3 separate regions of the Homo sapiens genome follow, and all the other regions are linked to region 3. The links are contacts of gene promoters, found by promoter capture Hi-C in blood cells and fetal thymus (Javierre and others, 2016). All regions are on one chromosome and are shown on one strand. The core of a region is centred on a gene start or on the middle of the fragment in contact, and the rest is flanking DNA. Distances in the headings are between cores, read along the strand shown. Region 1 overlaps CDC20B (cell division cycle 20B). Region 2 has its middle 9.0 kb from the start of GZMA. Region 3 holds the start of SNX18 (sorting nexin 18).

The links. The method cuts DNA at HindIII sites, captures the fragments that hold promoters and counts their contacts. A CHiCAGO score of 5 or more calls a contact.
Region 1: a fragment that was not itself captured here is called in contact with the fragment with the promoter of SNX18 in region 3 in 6 of 17 cell types (naive B cells, fetal thymus, total CD4 T cells and 3 more); the score reaches 7.9 in naive B cells.
Region 2: a fragment that was not itself captured here is called in contact with the fragment with the promoter of SNX18 in region 3 in 1 of 17 cell types (fetal thymus); the score reaches 5.1 in fetal thymus.

Annotation. Positions count from the first base shown.
Region 1 is chr5:55,125,110-55,129,501 of GRCh38, reverse strand. CDC20B (cell division cycle 20B) reads left to right here. Exons shown (of 12, transcript NM_001170402.1): 7 at 885-1,081; 8 at 2,151-2,245. Among named protein-coding and RNA genes, the nearest start is that of GZMA, 25 kb to the right of the region's middle. The HindIII fragment of the contact is 5,522 bases long and covers 1-4,392 here.
Region 2 is chr5:55,091,642-55,095,689 of GRCh38, reverse strand. It overlaps the pseudogene GZMAP1. Among named protein-coding and RNA genes, the nearest start is that of GZMA, 9.0 kb to the left of the region's middle. The HindIII fragment of the contact is 202 bases long and covers 1,742-1,943 here.
Region 3 is chr5:54,516,427-54,520,798 of GRCh38, reverse strand. It overlaps SNX18 (sorting nexin 18), which reads right to left and starts at 3,040. Exons shown (of 2, transcript NM_001102575.2): 1 at 1,226-3,040. The coding sequence starts at 2,846. RefSeq lists an enhancer at 1,188-2,132 and silencers at 2,605-3,164, 3,045-3,286. The HindIII fragment of the contact is 5,643 bases long and covers 1-4,201 here.

The sequences.
Region 1 (4,392 bases), core at 911-3,410, 610 kb before region 3:
GGTTTCTCTGACCAGAAATATGGTGGCCTTTTTGTCAGAGTCTTCGCTGGCACTCCATCAATGGGGCCTGTCCTCAGGGCAAAGGTGTGAAAGAAGAAAAGTGGGAAACTTACCCCCCGCCAGTTTGCTTCTCCAAATTTTGACTCCCTTACTTAGTTTACTGCTTTTCCTTACTTTACAGGATCTCCAGGTGTTTGTTTTTTATATTTCATTCAGAGTTTATATTTATCATGGGGACGGAATGTATTGTAGGGGTTTAAACTACTGTAGGGGAACTGGTGTGCTACTTAGTTTTATACTGATACGTGTCAGTCAGGAGTTTCTGACTGATAAGAAATAAGATAGGGTATATTTTAATAAATGGTCATACAAATATGTTTTCTCTTAGCAGTCAAAGGTTTCTTATTAGTATAAGCTATAGAATACTGTTGAGAACGTGTAGGTATCATACATGAACCACCACCTCTTCTAGCTGGGTGGTGTTTTTGGTTAGAAATGATGGTGGCATCTCCCATATAGATATCCTAGGTCCAAGAGTGTCTCCATAAGAATTATATGCTTTTAACTTTTACTGATCCGTTAAACGAAGTCTACATGTACTAATAATGGTAGATGAATCTGCCAAGTTCTTTAAATGGCTCTAAATAAATATATTTCAGTGTAAATAATAAGCATTATTGCTTATTAGACTGTGAGTGTTGACACTAGATTCTATTCCACTTTTCATTTTTGAACTTTTAAGGATTTTCATGGTTCCATGTTTCCATTTTCCAGCTAACCATGGGGATGGTATTATTCTTTTCCCCCTACCTATAAAGTTGTTTATTTGAACATGTTTTCATGTGGCTGTATAATTATACTAATTTGAAGTGCTTTTCTTATAGATCTGAATATCCTAGATTGGAGTTTTCAGAATCTTGTTGCCATAGCCCTGGGCTCTGCTGTATACATCTGGAATGGGGAGAACCACAATGGGATTGAAAACATAGACTTAAGTCTCACTTGTAACTATATCTCTTCTGTGTCCTGGATAAAAGAGGGAACTTGCCTGGCAGTTGGCACCAGCGAGGGAGAAGTGCAAGTACTGGCCAGTTTTTTTTTTTCTCATCATGTTCTCTGTGTATTATTACACTATAATTGACTTTTAATAACAAGTTAATGTAAAATAGAGAAACTAGGTGTGGCTCTTGAAGTATGGGGAATAAAAGGAGATGACATTCCGCTTTTTTTTTTTTTTTTTTACTGAATGGTTTTTAATGAAAACGTAAGGATACTCTGGTTAGTTTCCACCACAATCTTTCTGTCATATTTAAAAATATATTTTCTCTGAAACTAAAGTTGGGCTTGTAGAATCTCCAGTTTTGGAGCTTTGGAGAGAGGAAGATACTTTCAGTTCTCCTTTTCACCTGAAGCCGTGATTAAGAGTACAGTTATAGAAAATGAGTGAATTTTTTTTTCTGATAGGCTCCTTGAGATGGGGATTTATCAAATTTCCATCAATCTATCTGATTTCTCATGTATCATTATTATTGTTTATTACCAATAGAATAAACAATATCACTCATGTGCAAATGACTTAGGAGGGCCACAGATGGCTCTCTCACTGCTTTCTCATCTCTGCAATGATAATGAATGCTGTGAAGTCTATGTCATGATTTCTTCTTACACCAAAGTTGTCATTCCCCATGTGGATCAGAATATTATCTGTAGCTCGCAGGAAGGGAGTCTCTTAGCAGTAAGTGGAATTACTGATTCTAGGAAGTGTCCGGGTACCCACATCTTATTAATACATTTGTTGGTAACTGTGGGTAGATTTCCAGATTTGGAATTCTCACAATTTAGAAGGAGCTAGAAATGTGGTAATAATTCTCAACCCTTGGCTGCACATTGAATTCACCTGGGGAGCTTTAAAACAACTGCCATATATCCCCAGGCTCTACTCTACCAACTAAATCAGCATCCATAGTGTTATAGACTCCCCAGCTGATCCTAATACACAGTCAGAATTGAGAACTGCTGGCTAGATGTGCTGGGTTTTCACTTAGTACAAAAACTAACAATATCAGCAGTAATTGGCTCTCAGGCCTTTGAGAAGACAGTGGGCTGTGAAAACTCCAATGCTACATAACTCTCCTTGTTCATTTTTTCAGTTATGGGATGTGGTAACTAAAAAGCGGCTGAGAAATATGCTTGGTCATTTGTCAGTAGTTGGGGCTCTGAGCTGGAATCACTTTATCCTCAGCAGGTAAGAAGCGTCTTGTTGGAGACAGTTATGTTTGTATTAACAATTGATTATGGGGCCTGAGTAAACAGTTGTAATATTCAAAACCTAAACCAATCAAAAATAAAACAAAATAGGCCATTGGACTTAATATCAGGTATGATCCCACCCTCTCAGGTATTCAGATCTGCTGGTCATGTAAGTGTCTTGGTGGCCACATGTATCATGTGTGCCTTCTGCATGGGATGCACTAAATTGTTCAGATAAAATGTGAAAATCCCTTCAAGCAAAAGGTTTCTCTGTGCTAAGTAATAGGTACTAAAGGGATATTTTGCTGAAATCAAGTATTTATTGCTGTCAGTATCTATACTATGGAATATGTTAAGCTCTCTGGGACACATTTCCAATTCATAGACCCACAGAAATTAGAGCAGAAGGAACCTCATAGATTATCCTGTTCAGTAGTTCTCAAACTAGAACATGTATCAGAATCACCTGGAGAGCTCCTCAAAATGCAGATTGCTGGCTTCACTTGAGGGACTTCAGATTCATTAGGTCTTGAGGGGCTGATAATTGGCATTTCTCATTTCCCAAGTGATGCTGATGATACATCCCTTTGAGAACTAGTGATTTAGTTTAACTGCTTCTTTTTAACCAGAAAAATTAAGGGACTTTTTCCTATGAGCCTACATAACTGGTCTAAATATATATTGCTTTTAATCATAGCCATTCATTTTCATATTGTAGTTCTTAAGGTTAAGGTAGACTTAAGTTAGATAAATCCCAAAGACTGTTTTTTTTTTTTTTTTTTTTTGACATGGAATCTCACTCTGTCACCTAGGCTGGAGTTCAGTGGCGTGATCTCAGCTCACTGCAACCTCCACCTCCCGAGTAGCTGGGACTACAGGCGCCCACCACCATGCCTGGGTAATTTTTGTATTTTTAGTAGAGATGGGGTTTCACTATGGTGGCCAGGATGGTCTTGAACTCCTGACCTTGTGATCCACCTGCCTCGGCCTGCCAAAGTGCTGGGATTACAGGTGTGAGCCACCGCGCCTGGCCATCCCAAAGACTTTTAAAATGTATTTAAGTAATCTGATGTAAACTTGAGACTTGAATATCTTGTGTTTTTGGCCGGTCTTAAAACAACTTAGTTATTGCAGTCAATTATGTACTCAAGCTCCTTTTCTAATCTGCATTGTTAAAATTTAGTTTCATTATCCACGAGGAAAATGAGCAGATCCTTTCTTATAATAATAGCAGCTAACATTTTCAGACTACTCTGTGCCAGGCACTGTGCTATACTTTTTATGTGTGTAATTTCATTTTAATCACTGCAGTAACATGATAAGGTGGTCTCTTATCCTCAATTTTGTTTTTTCAAATTAAACTAAGACACTAGCCTGAAGTCACATGGTTAGTAAGTGATGGAGTTGGAATAACCCAGCTGGTCTGGCTCCAGAGCCCATATTGTTAATCACAATGCTGTTCAGCATTGCATAGTTTTAAACAATGCGACACTGGACTTTGAGAAATGTCTGAAATAATTGTGGAACATCATTTACTTACTCCTTAGAGAAAATTAAATTAATCCAGAAAGCGTTCATTATCTTTGAAAAAGTGATGTGATCTTTAGTTGTTTAGATTCACATCACTGAGCATGAATGGAGACATTATCCACTGCTTAGGAATCATATTGCAGTTTGCTGTGACATTCAATTGGTTTTAAACTTCTTTTACAAAGAAGTTTAGTTCTTTAGCAAAACTAAGAATGGATCTATAGGTTAATAGGACTCTACCTGTTAGATATTTATTTCCTTTTTCTATGTCTAACATTTTACTGTAAATATATACTGAAACCATTTTGTTGAGATAATCTGAAATATTCAAAGTTGCAGAAAAGTGTTAATATTTCCTAGGTCCTGTATATAAACTAGTCTTTGGGAAAATCTGGTAATCTTCTCAGCTTATTTTTCCATCGCTGCTTACATCAGATTAAAGTCATTAGAAACATCTATCAAAGGATATTTTTAAATCTAGACTTCAAACTCTGCCAGACAAATCAATTTCACTTGTGAAAAGAATCCTCCAGGCAGAACACTCCATCCTTATTAACCCAAGGAATCTCCACCTGTGTTTTGAATCTGTCCTAGGGGTCTTTCAGAAGTTTT
Region 2 (4,048 bases), core at 593-3,092, 580 kb before region 3:
TGATTCAGGTTGAGTAGAGGGTAGAGGGAGGTGATTCTAGTTCTTTTATTTTTTCTTGCCTTAAGCTGAGTTTGAAATTGCAGGGGCTTCTGGTATTGTGGAACTGCTAAAAACACAACGGCACCACAGCAATGGTCACATTCCTATGATTGCATTGCTTTCAGGCGATGCTTCCTGACATTAGAGTGTCCCCACTTCCTCGGTGCTCCTTCTGATTACTGAAGCTCCTGCCCCCCACCTTGCTAACATTGTGAGGTGAAATGGCCACAGATGAGAGCCTTTCTATAGAACAGGACTTGAAATGTGCATGTGCAACTTTCCGACTTCTCACCCACTCATGCTTCCTCACAGCCTGCATGCTTGCTATCTGAGGACAAGGAGGAGGGAGACTTCAAAAGGGACTTTGGGGCTTAATGAGTGTATCAGAGTCTGGGAAGCACATGTTTGTAAGGAGCAGTCCCCATTCAAGCTCTCTTATGGTCAACTGCATAGGACTACCATGGCCGCACAATTAGGTTTTAGCCCTGGAGAGTTAACTATCCCTGGTCAAGTCTTGACACCTTCTTTGTGGATTCCCTCGCAGCATCACACTATTGGCCATAGTGTCATAGGTGGGAAGGAGTTTCCCAGCTCTAACAGCATGGGCCCCTCACCTCCTGTACCCACCTCATTCCTTTCTAAAGGTAAGATTTTCAGGTCCTGAAGGAGACCTGACTTCTACCACTTGCTTGAAACCAGAGTCTAGAATCCCTTCTCTGCTTTTGATTACATTTGCCACTGTCTGGCTTAATTCCATCTCTTATTCAAAATTATTCAAGAAATATTTATCGAGGGCCTAATTATGTATCACATACTGTTGTTCTAGGTATTGGAGGTCATAGAAGTAAGTAGACAAAAGTATCTCTTATGTGGAGCTTAGGTTCCAGTGAGGGAGGCAGGCAGACATACACCATCTAAAGTATATCAGGGTGTGTTAGATGCCATGGAGGAAAATGTAGCAGGGGAGTGGGCCAAGGAGTGCCCTCTGAGGGGCAGGGAAGGGAGTGTCCTTCAGGGCCTAGGATGCCCTGTTGGAATCAGGCTGTAAGTGGTGGGGGGCAAGGAGTATGGAGGTTTTGCCAGAAGTGCACAGAACCCTAAAGGCCTTTCTTTATTCCCAATGATGGGAGTGGGCCAACCCCTGGGCTTTCTCTCTGTCTCTCTTTTTTCTTTTTTTGAATTAGGGCCTCACTCTGTCATCTAGGCTGAAGAGTTATGGTGTGATCACAGCTCATCCAGGATGCAGTACAGTGGAACCATCACAGCTCACTGCAGCCTCCAACTCCTGGGCTCCAGCAATCGTCCTACCTCAGCCTCATGAGAAGCTGGGACTAAAGGCATGCACCACCATGCCTGGCTAATTTTTAAATTTTTTTGTAGAGATGGGAGTCTCACTATGTTGCTCAGGCTGATCTGAGCTCGTAGGCTTAAGTGATCCTCCTGCCTTGTCCTCCCAAAGTGCTGGGATTATAGGCATGAGCTACCATGCCAGAATGTCAGGCTTCCTCCTAACTCCTGCTGGTGACCATCATCATCAGCCCTTTAGGGCTAGTGTGAACTGTTTACACTCTTTCTTCCAGACCTGTTTTGCCCTACTCCACTTTCAGCATGGCAGCCAGAATGATCATTTAACAACAAGGGTGATAATGTTGCAACCCTACTCAAAACACTTTACCATTTCCTTCCCCATAAAGCTCAAGCTTCTTACCAAGGTTTGCAAGGCCTGGCTTTGTGGTCTGTGTCCTGCCTACCCCTCTTTCTCAAATCTTGTGTTAACTCCCTTTTCTCCCCAATTCCTCCAAATGCATTGTCCAGAAAGACACCTCCAGTACATACTCTTCTTCCTGCTGGTAAGGACCCTCCCTCCCTTCCTCCTGGCTGACTCTGTCCTTCTCCAGGAAGCTTCCCCATGTACTCAAGATAGAGCCCTCTTCTTAGTTATCTCTGTAACTGATGGACAAAATACCATTAGATCAGAGCTGGAGATTTATTTGTCTGGGAGCAAGTCCTGATTTCTGGCAGGCTGGCACTAACAGCTAAGCATTCAAATTTTCTGGCTACTCATAAACACTCTCATGGAACATCAGTGTCAGACCAGGTGATTCTAATAAAGTGAGAAAAAAACAAGTCCTCTCTGGCATCATGTTTGAGTCTTTCCATTCTTTCTGTCTCCTAGATAATTAAGGTTTATTAAGAGACTGAATCACAGAATTATTCCACTTGCTGACAACACCCAATTCACAGCAAACTCATTCTTCCTTGAATCCTACCCCAAACTGCCCAACACAAGCTCCAAGCTTGTGAAAAGCCCCAACCAACACCCTCTTACTGAGCCAGCCCATGGTTTCACATAGTGAGCAGTCTCCCTTGCTAAGCCAGCATCAATGAACATAAATTTGTTTGACTTCAGGTGAATTCCCAGTGGTCTTGGATTTACGGGCATCACCACTGTAGATTGCCAAGAGGGACTTTTGTGAACAGCTGTTGACGAACTGAATTCACAAGGGGGAAGGGACATCTGTGGTAGCAGTACTGGGCCTGGCTGTACTTCCTACCCCCAGACTTGAGGCATTAGCCCACTCTGTGCATTAGCACAAGTGCATGTGTGTGTGTGTGTGTGTGCGCGCGCGTGTGTGTATGTCTGTGTGTGTGTATGTGTGTATGTAGAACCTACTTTAAGATTACACTATAAAATCAAGGTTGATTTCTTCATTCCAACATTTAAAAGCTTGACTCTGGCCAACTTTTCTCATCCTTGGAGACTTCAGCAAGGCACACTGTTTCCCAAAGCATGGGAAAGTAAACCTGCTACTTCTGCAGGTTTACTTATATATAGACAAAAATTACATAGGAAAAGTTTCAGGTTGCACTGACCTTTTACTATTTCAAAATAGTTATCAAACCCCCCCCACATATTTATCTGAAGGAGTTAAAGATACCATATGAATGGCTGTGGATCATAGCATGGATAGGAAATCGCCTTTTTAATGGAAACTTTCTGGTCAAGTTTCTGTTTATGGGATGTAGAGTGGGCCCCAAGAATAATTTGAAGTTTGCCCCTCTTGGAAAGAAACACCACCTAACTTATGTAAGAGAATGGATGAAACTAAACTATTGGCTTAATTTACTCAAGTCTGGTCAGTGTTTTCAAATGCCTTCTGATTTATAAACAAGCACTGCAAGACAGAAGGAACTTAGGGAGCTTTTTTTTCCCTCTGGTGTTTTAGCACCTGTTACCCTAAATTCCCAAGATGTGTGTTATGATACATTGCTTCAACTTCACCACATCTTTTCAAGGAAGAAGCAACGGAAAGGGAGTCCCAGGTGTTTTGGCAGAGGCAAGAGCACTGACTTGTAAAGGCCTGGAGAGATCTGCTTGGGACCTGGAGTCGGGGCTTCCCTTGGGCCAGTGGTAGCTGGGGCTGCCTGGGTAGAGGAGCTGGGCTCTGCCATTCACCTGCTGAAAGGGGAGCTGCCAATTTCTTCACTTCCTTTGGATTTGTGGAGTAAAGCCCATTCCCTAGTGGCCTTCTCGGTTGTTGATACCTAATGGAAGAGACCAAACCTGAGAACTAGAGAAGTAGCAGGTATACTTTCCCATGCTTCTGGGAAACAGTCTGCCTTGCTGAAGTCTCCAAAGATGAGAAAAGTTGACCACAGTTAAGCTTTTAAAAGTTGAAATGAAGAAATAAACCTTGGTTTTATAGTGTAATCTTAAAGCCAGTTCTACATACACACATACACACGCACACACATACACACTCACGCTCATGCACGTGCAAACAAATGAACTAGGGCTAAACCTGAATCTAGTTTATGCACCTTATGTAGCTATTCTAGGAGAAGAGGGCAAAATATTTTCTGATTTGTTGGGCAGACTGCATTGAGCTGTTCCATTAATTAATCATCCCGGTGTCTAGCTTTATTTTCACTGCAAATTGTGCTGAAGTTCTTATTTGACAAATTCTTACTTCATATAACAGTATAATGTAAATATGTTCAAATATTT
Region 3 (4,372 bases), core at 1,791-4,290:
CATAGGAGTCAGAAGACCAGTCACGCATTTGGAAGGGGAAGGAGAGAAGCAGAGAGGAAGGAAGCGAGACTGCTGTCTCCAAATGTCTGAAGGCGGTCCCAGGGAACAGAAAGACAATCAAGGGAGGCAAACTTCAGTTCAATACAAGAAAAGACATGCCAGAGATCAGGGTTGCTCATAAACGGACTGGCCCACCAGAAAGGCAGTGAGCACTTCACCAGTAAAGGCCAGACCCGCTGAGGAAACAGGGACAGTAGGTTTCCCTGCTCAGGAGTAGGTTTCCCTGCCCAGCCGCCCCTACACTGGACTTTCACAGGCAAGACTGCCTCCCTAACTCCCACACCTCCCCATTCTCTCAATCAAGGCATTATATGAGAATGCACATTAGTAAGAAATGTTAAGACAAGCACTACTGCTATATATTTTTTTAATTTGCAAATTCTGGTGCTTTAGCAAAGGTCAGAGACACTAACAACTATTAATAACTCATGAACTCTGATAGTTGGACAGCTAACTCACTGGGATACCAGCAACGCTGCTCTCAGATCCAATACTCAGATTATATTCATTCTATGTAGTTTCCCTAAACAATTTTCCTAAACAACGTTCTCAATTTCAGTACATTAATAGATTTCAAACTCAAAATGAGTACGCTTTTCCTGAAATTACTTCACTTCGTAAAGGTTGCAGGCAAGAATTCTTTGCAGGAATTTCTTAAACTCAGAGAATTGATCTTAATTCCTCTACCAAAGCAGAGATTGAGAGGTGTGGAAGGGTGAAAGCAGATTTCTATTTACAGACATCCGTTCTTCTCCATTATTTCCTCACTTTTTGAAACTCACCACTAAGTGACAGTGCAGTGTTCAAACAGATACCTAACATGGTTTAGGTCCCCTTCTAATTCTACCCTCGTCTCAAGATTACAGATTTGAGCAGCTCATTACTCAACTATTCAAACTCTAAAATGATAGCACTGTCATCAAAGGTACTCTTTGAACCTTCGAGAAAGAGTACTCATTCCCTAATGCAAGATACTCGAGGAGGAAGCTGCCTGTCGAGCAATCCAACTTACACTCTAGGGAAAAGACCCAGGCGTCCACGTCTCTGCTCGCTTCCTCACCTGTAGAATATGATTCTGAAACCCACAGTGGTACTGCTGTCAAAGTCGCCCCTTTCAGCCTGCACAATACACTCCATATCACCTGCTCTAAGGGCCAGGCTTTACCTTTCTGAACGTGGATGATGTCCGGGAAGTTAGCCAGATGCCCCTGATACAGCGCTAATAGGTCCATGACGGGATCCAGGTCCTGCCTGGGCTGCTCCGCGAAGAGCTCGCCAATGGCGTCATAGGCATCTCCGGTGAAGGCGATAGCCTGGTTCAGGCCCACCGAGAAGGCCTGCTGGTCCAGCTCAAAGGCCTGGCTGAGGCCGCGGAAGGACTGGCCCACCTTCTGATACTCCTTTTTGAAGCCGGTCACCTGCTTGCGCGCGAACTCGTTGGCCGTGTGGTTGAGCTGCAGCGCGCTGTCGTCCATCTTCTTGGTGAAGCACTTGAAGCCGTCGATCTTGCTCTCCACCTCCTGCAGGTCAAGGGCAGCGGCGGGGGGCGTGCTAAGGGTCAGGAAGAAGTTGGCGCCCACCATCTCGTCCTTCTCGGCCTTCCTCTTGCCCTGCTTCCAGGCTTTCTCGTCGGTGCTGCTGGGGCACGTCAGGAAGTGCTGGAAGACGTCGCACTGCGCCAGCACTGGGTGGCTGGCCATGTGGTTCATCCACCAGATCAGGCCCTTCCTGCGCTTAGAGATGAAGTCCTCCTCGAAGCGGCCGGTGGCCTGCTTCTCGGGCAGGTGGGGCACGGAGATGACCGGGAACTTCTCCGCCAGGCGCGCGTACAGCCAGTCGAAGTGCTTGTAGCGCCGATGCACCGGCACCTGCGTGTGCGTGGGCACCAGCTTGTAGGAGATGTAGCTCTTCATGCCCTTGAACTTGGTCTGCTTGGTGGGGTCGTCGATGGTGCACTGGAACGGGTAGGGGTTCTCCTGCCACTCGGGGCCATAGGGCCCCAGCACCACGCACAGCTTGTCCCCGTCCTTCACGAAGCCTGACGCCTCCCCCAGCACGAAGGCCTCCCCGCCGGACTTGACGAAGGTGGAGAAGCGATTGAGGTTGCGGCTCACGGTGGCCGAGCTCTTGGGCCCCGACGGGTGGTGCTGCGGGGGGACCGAGCCGCCGCGGGAACCCAGGGACAGGTCGGAGCGCGTGGACAGGCGGTAGCGGCCGGCTGCGCCCACACCCGCCGAAGACGAGCCGTCGAGGTCCGGGTATGCTCCGCTGCCCAGAGCGCCCGGCTCGTCCGCCACCGTGGAGCTGTCGTCCCACTCGTCGTCCCAGTCATCATCGCTGCCTTGGCTGGCCTGGTAGCCGCCGTAGAGCTGCTGAGGCGACGGCTGCAGGGCGCCCCCGCCGTACGGGAAGCCCGCGCCGGGCGGCTGGAAGGTGCTCGGAGGCGGCGCCTGCTGTGGCTGCAGCAGCGCCTGGAAGGCGTCAGGCGGCGGCTTGAAGGAGGCGGGGGGCGCGACAGGCAGGGGCTCGAAGCCCCCGGGGGGCACATTGGCGTAGCGGGCCGGGGCGCCCGGGCCGCCGTCTCCCGCCGGGCCAGGCTCGGGGGCGCGGATCACCTGCACATAGGAGGCCGGGAAGAGGCCGCGGTCGCCGCGGCTGTTGACCCCCTCGAGCCAGCCCTCGATGTCCTGCTCGCTGCACAGGCTCAGCACCTCGTGCTCTCGCAGCGAGATCTCTCCTGGGTTCTCCGACCTGAAGTCGTACAGCGCCCGGGCGCGCAGCGCCATGGTCCCGGCGCCCCGACTGGCGGTCCCGACTCCCGGCGTCCCGAGCCGAGGCCCACCTGAGGGGCCCGCGGTACTGCTCGAGCCCTGGCGCGCGGACTGGAGCCCCGAAGGCGGCAAACCCACGCTGCCCGGACCAGCCGGTCGCGCCCTCCGCGCGGCTCCGCTCGCAGCGCCTCCACTTCGCAGCGCCGACTGCCGCGCTGGGCCGCCGCAGCCGCCGCCGGTCGGGGGCGGGGCCCGCGGCCTCCCACGTCTCCAGCTGCGCTAATCCACGGCCGAGAGCCCCTTGCCAGGCGAGAGCAAGCGATGGCCGAGCCGCCGAGCCCACCGCCCGCGTCGGCTTTGCGGCGGCCACTGCCCTCTAGTGGCCGGTGCCGCGAAGCCGGGCGCCGTAGTGAGCGCGGCTGAAGGAGGTTTCTACTCCGAAGTGAATTATCTGAGATTTCTTTAGGCTTTTAAGTTAAACATTCTCTAGAAAGTAAGTTAGCATTTGCATGCCTGATAAACGTTCCCACTCTGAGCGCTCAGTGAATGCTCCTAGAATGGCAACCCAGTCATGTAATAAAGCATTTTGCAATGCGAATTAGTGATTGCACTAAGAAAACAGGATGCCTCTGCGGAGGAGCTGTTCACCTACAGAGCAGGCTCCCTTCCCTCTTCTGCTCAAGGAGAGGAGATTGGCAAGAACAAAGTAAGGGCCAGGGAAGGTGCTGTGATTGACAAAATTAGAAGCAAAGGATCATGTAGAGAGGGAGGAGCTGGAGAGTTTCCAGTACAATAAATGCTCACACATTTATTACATGCATGTGTCGCCTATCCTCCCATAGATATATGTAGTGCGGTGAATGAGAGCTCAAACTTCGGAGCCAGGCTTCTGAATTTCAATCTGTGTTCTGACACTACCTAGCTGTATGACCTGGAACAAGGCACTTATATCGTACCTACCTCCGGGGGTTGTTGTGGGGATTCCATCATAAAGTAATCCCTATTTTACAGATGAGGAAAGTGAAACAATATCTGGCAGGGTAAGCAGATTTGAAGGGTTTGTTGCTGCTTTTGCTGCTGTTACTGTTATTTGGGGGAAGCAAAATCCCTGGCCTCTTTCACAAAGGGAATAGGGGTACTAAACTAACAATTGCAGGGTACATGCACCAGGAAGCGTCCCAATGTTCACATTGCCACTCCTAGTAAGAGGTCAGTGACCATCCATCCATCTGTTGTCTCTATGTCTCACTATATTTATATTATTTTTAAGATAAATAGAACAAAAATCACTTCCTGAAATAATCAGCTCCAATCTATCGTTGCCTTGTTTCCTATCTTCCTTTCCTTCAGTGTATAATTTGCCCAAAGCTTTTTCTTCTCTTAATCCCCTCTTATTAAGTCTAGCCTAATTATTCCTTTGAAGACACTTCTAATTGAGGTTCTGCATTCATGTGTCATTAATTTCAGCCTGTCCTCTGACCCTTTTCAAGGAAACCTGGGAAACGGGCCAGAAGAGTGTACAATTATTCTAAGGGCTGTGG